Linked DNA regions of Homo sapiens: region 2 is linked to region 1. The links are contacts of gene promoters, found by promoter capture Hi-C in human tissues and cell types (Jung and others, 2019). All regions are on one chromosome and are shown on one strand. The core of a region is centred on a gene start or on the middle of the fragment in contact, and the rest is flanking DNA. Distances in the headings are between cores, read along the strand shown.

Region 1 (2,700 bases), core at 131-2,630:
CCTACCAAAACAGTGGTGGAGGCGAGGAGAATGAGGTGGGGGTCACCCCCCACAATGGACAGTGCTTTGACCCTTTTGTAGCTGGGCTCCCACTGCTGACAGATGGGAATGGGAAAGGCAATGCTCACCAGTAAGGCCAGGGTGCTGACCACCGAGTACCCATAGAAGTGGACCACACCTCGGGGGCCACTGGTCATCAGGAAGCAGTCCAGCTGCCCCACCAAGGCTGTGATGCCACACACGCCTGCCGACATGCCCAGCAACCTCCAGACCCACAGGCTTCTGTATCGGTCAGTGGCATCCACAAAATCCAGGAACTCATAAAGGCTGTCATCTGCCACCTGCTCCAGAGGCGCTGTCAGCAGCTCCCAGAACGCCACGGACCCCAAGGAGAGGATAAAAGTCCGCCGCAACGCCTCCAAGGACAGGTCAAAAGCCCAGGCTTTCCCCTTGGTCCCTGACAAATTGGCTGGATTCCCGGGCCCTTTCCCCCCAGGAAGCAAGGGGAGGGCTGTCTTGACCACCTCAAAAGTAACTTCCCAGGGATGATCTTTCAGCCCCGAAGTGACAGGATGGAGGAGAGCTTGGGATGTGGTCCTAGCTCCTTCAACGGAGGGCGCTAAGTAGACGTGCAGATCACGGAAAGTTTCTCGGTCACTTTCACCAGGTGGGTTTCTGAAGCCAGGCATTTCCACCTCTGCAGTCCTCTTGGCTGGGTGGCTGGAGGCAGACTCTTGGGCCGAGGTGATGTTCACAGGTAGCGTGACCCCCGGGAGTGCGTCTGTGCTGGTCAGGCCGCTGCTTCCATTACAAGGGAAGTGCACCCGATTTTTGTCTACCGGTGGGACCAGGACCATCAGCAGGCTGGCCCCCACCGAGCCGAGCAGGGAGCCGATCAGAAGCGCTCTCCTTTTCCGGTAGCTTTTGGCCAGGAAGGCACAGACGGGAGCCCAGAAGGCAGCGATTAGGTGCTTGGTTCCCATTAGGGTGCCCACCCAGGGCGCGGCCAAGCCCAGCTGCCTCAGGTAAAGGGTCAGGAACGGGGTCACGCAGGCTTCCCGCACCCCGCACACCAGGTGGAAGAGCTTGGCCACCCCCAGCGCCCTGCTGATGTCCCACCGGGGGTTGGCACTCATGGCTGCCGGGCTCTGTCAGGCCTGGGCCGACGGAGGGCGGAGCTGGGCGCAGGGCGGGCGCGGCCCCAGGTACCCGGGAGGGAGGCTTGGGGGACCGGGGCTCGGAGCGAGTGGGACTGCGCCCCCGGTCTGGGGCGGCGCCGCGGTCACCAGGTCAACGGCCGCCCCCGGCCACAGCCCCCAGGTCCTGCCGTTGGACCGAAAGGGGCCCCGCCCGGAGGGAGAGGCGGGGCGGGGGCGAAGGTGGGGGCGGGGCCAGCGCACCTGCGAGCCGCACCTGCCACGTCCCACCGCCTCCGCGGGCCACCTGCCCGGACGTGCGCAGGTGCGCTAGGGGCGCGTCCGGGGGCCTGTAGGGTGCGCTCTGAGCTAGGCCTCGGGCCCCGCCTGGCCTCTGGCTGCCAATGTGGCCCAGGAGCCTGAGCTAAACGCCTGGACTGCTTCAGGCAAGTAAAACCGTCAGAGTCGGCGTGGGGGGGAGCCAGAATGGAATGAATGGTATCCACCAGGCTGTCTCCCTCATCTTCTTCAGGTCTGTACTGGAATGCACCCTGATCAGTGACCAACCACAGACAGAGATCAACACGGTCCACTCTGACATCGCAAATCCCATACCCCTGTACCCACCCCGCCCCCAAGACTCCCACTCCCCTGCCCTACTTGATCGTTCTCTCTAGAACTTATCACTGACCAAGGCACTACGGGCTTATATTTCATGTGTTGACTTTGTTTATTGTCTGTCTCCACCAGAATCCAAGCTCCAGGAAGGCAGGTATTTTTGTCCCCGGGGCCTAGAATTGTTTCATTGGATGCATACTGCCCTCGGAAATGGCATGACCTTGGGTGACATGGTTGTCTCCAGCTGGGACAGTCCCTAAGGAGGGCTGACAGCTGATGGCAGTCGTCCAGGGGAACTCCTTGCAGCCGATCGCCAGCACATGGCAGTCCCCAGAGCCATATGTATGTGCTGCACAGTTTTAACCTACACCTAAGGGTGGTCTGGTGCCCTGTTTGAGAGTACACACACTTGAGGTGGTTAGCTAGCATTTCATCAAAAAGACAGAGACAGCTAGTACAAGCACGTCGACAATCTTAAATCAACAGAAGTGTCTTCACTAATGGACATAATAGATATTAGAAATAGTTTTTCACTGGTGAAATTAGTGGTGTCCAAGCCACCTGGATTGGAGATAATTTTTTTGAAGGCATTTCCTCTCTTGCTGGAACAGGCTATAATAATCTAGAGATGGCCTGGTGCGGTGGCTCATGCCTGTAATCCCAGCACTTTGGGAGGCCGAGGCAGGTGGATCACGAGGTTAGGAGATCGAGACCATGCTGGCTTACACGGTGAAACCCTGTCTCTACTAAAAATACAAAAAAATTAGTTGGTTGTGGTGGTGTGTGCCTGTAGTCCCAGCTCCTTGGGAGGCTGAGGCAGGAGAATGGCATGAACCCGGGAGGTGGAGCTTGCAGTGAGCCGAGATCACGCCACTGCACTCCATCCTGGGCAACAGAGTGGGACTCCGTCTCAAAAAAAAAAAAAAAAAATCTAGAGATGCCAGTA
Region 2 (2,700 bases), core at 116-2,615, 240 kb before region 1:
CAGATTATGGTACTTAGAATATTCAATCGGAACTTCACCAGTAAAAACAAAAGCATGGAAAACCCCCAAAACGTGACAAGTACCTTGTGTATTAATTACAGCTACACATTTTGATAACGCTTATTGTATACCAATCCAGAAACAAGTGAAATTACACGTGTACTGTGAGAGCTCTCAACAGCAAAGACAACTAGAATTCTCTCATATATAATCAAATATAACTTGTTAAGGATTTCACTCAAAATGTGCAATAGGGAAACCCGGATATTTGATATTTTCATACCCTGAAGAAAATAAAATGAAAATTATCTTAATTAGTTTCAAAAATTTTGTTTGTTCTGAATTGACATCGATTTCTAGAATCTTTTCTGGGGTGATTATAATGTATCTATAGTAACTAAAACTAGATTAGTTATTAGTTAGCAACTTAATTTAGGGGCAATGCAGGTTTGTTTCATATTCTGAACATATTTTCCCCCTTCTTAATTTGGCATCTAAAGTTATTACATGATCTGCAGTATGCATTAAAACACATCAGCACAGATAGGGTGCTATGCATGTGTGTTAGCTATTTGCCCTAAATGAGAAAATCCATTCTAGGAGTAATGAGCTAGCACTTAATCCAAAGGCCAGATGGCCACCTTAAATGCTTTAGCTATCTTAATCTCCAAACCAAACCAGAAGCTTTGTTGTTAGTAAAATGAGTTTTCACATGCACTAAGTGGCCTCATTACTTAGTATAATGGATATTAGAAATCACTAGGGTAACATGAGTGGCATTAAGCCATGGACTGATTAGAAAGAGATATATATTAACTTCAAATAGAGCCTTAAAAAAAGATAAATACATAAATAAAAACAAAGAAAGATATATATAGACCCTCCCCAATCCGGGGTCAAGGGAACAAGTGTTGAGACTCCAGCAAGTCCAGGAGGCTGTATTGTTGGGGGTGCTCCTAGAGCTTGATACTAAATGGCTGTGTGCAGCCAGTGATCTGGAAGATGCTGGTTGCCTGGTGCAGACCATATTCTGTCACTGATACTGTCACATTTGCCTCAGTAAATCTTTCAGGTAAACGTTTGGTTAGAGAAATTAAACAGAGCTGGGCTGCATGCAACTTACAAAACTGTTTTCAGCAACTGCCTTTTGATAAATAGATATGAGGGTGCAGAATCCGGACGTGCTTTCATTATAACCTGGTCGCCAAACTGTAAGGAGGATGCCTAGAGCCCTTACCTAGCTTTAACTGCTGGAGGATACTTATCTACCAAGAGGTACATAATAGTTGGAAATTGCCAGCCTGGCTTAAGTCAACTTGGAAAAAAAAAAAAAAAAGAGAGAGAGAAAGAAAATAAAAGGAAAGAAAAGAAGGATTTGTGGAAATAGAGAAAGTGATTCTAACTAAAACTCTGTGAGGGAAGATGTACCTGCTGATCCAAACAATCATTTTGAAATTGAAGTCCCTGTTTTTAAAGTTTCATTATGAGAGATTCTTTTTACATAAATCTCCTCCATCTGGAACGCATTTTACTTCTCCATAAACAGAGAACTGGACTAACTGTGAACGATTATTTTCTTAAGGGTAATGCTCTCCTAAATAAAGAATCCCTTTAATATAAACCATATGCTAGTATCTTTGAAAGAAAAGATATTCTTCAGGAAATTAGTCGTCTATATCAGATCAAAGAAATGGAACCAAATGGATTCTAAAGCTTATGGAGTTTATAGCCTCAAATATTTTCACTGTAAGCATGTAGCTTATAAATATGACTGCATGAAATTTCACTGTATACACAACTCATTTTTTAACATCGTACTACTCTTGGTATGACATTGATCTCAACCCAAGGCCTGGCCTGCCCACGGAGCAACTGCCTCCCTCATGTTCTCTACCCTTGCTTCTAAAATGGGGGCATGCATATTCTCAGAGGATCTAGCATATGCACTACCTTCCCCGAGCTCAACAACATCATGACATGCCGTTGAAAACATATTAAAGTTAACACCAATATGAAGGTGTGCTCTACAGGGCTAGGGAACCTTAGTTTTGACCACTGGTATATTCCCAGGGCCTGGAAGAGTGTATGGCACTTTGTAGTGTCTGCCACATTTTCAGTAAATGAATTCCATAAAATCCATAAATATACCTGTGGGGCACTATGCTAGGAACCAAAGATACAAAGTCCCTACTGACAAAGATCTTAGACATTCTACTAGGAAAGATAATAAATACACAAAGTAATTAGTTACAGCTTGTGATAGGTGCCATGAGGGAAATAAACAGGATACTGTGATAGAGAATAATAGAAGAAATATCCTCAGATATGGTTTTAGACTAACTAGCTAGTTAGGAGAAGAAATGTGGACAGATCTGAAACACCTTCTAGATGTTTAACCAACAGGATTCACTGTTGGCCTGGACGTGGGCCATGAGAAAAAGGCTGATTCCTAGGTATTTTGTCTTTCTAGGTTTTGCTATTGCTTTTATTTTAAGTTTAACCAACTGGGTGATTTCATAATACCATCTATTGATGTAAGACATAAAGGAACAAATTTTGAAAGGAAAGGAAAAACTTTCATTTGGAATATGTTAAACTTCAAGAATCTATTGACATCCATTTGGAGATATCAATTAAGCTGCACAGTGGCTGGCAAATAATAGGTGCTTAATAATTAAAAGAACTAAATAACAAATCAAA

What was found. The method cuts DNA at HindIII sites, captures the fragments that hold promoters and counts their contacts. A contact is called where the count stands out against the background at its distance.
Region 2: a fragment that was not itself captured here is called in contact with the fragment with the promoter of MFSD6L in region 1 in 2 of the 25 tissues and cell types used here (H1 embryonic stem cells and pancreas).

The regions. Positions count from the first base shown.
Region 1 is chr17:8,797,985-8,800,684 of GRCh38, forward strand. It overlaps MFSD6L (major facilitator superfamily domain containing 6 like), which reads right to left and starts at 1,381. Exons shown (of 1, transcript NM_152599.4): 1 at 1-1,381. The coding sequence starts at 1,136. RefSeq lists a silencer at 1,455-1,514. The HindIII fragment of the contact is 25,791 bases long and covers 1-2,700 here.
Region 2 is chr17:8,562,572-8,565,271 of GRCh38, forward strand. The region is part of intron 7 of MYH10 (myosin heavy chain 10); the gene reads right to left. Among named protein-coding and RNA genes, the nearest start is that of MYH10, 67 kb to the right of the region's middle. The HindIII fragment of the contact is 5,307 bases long and covers 1-2,700 here.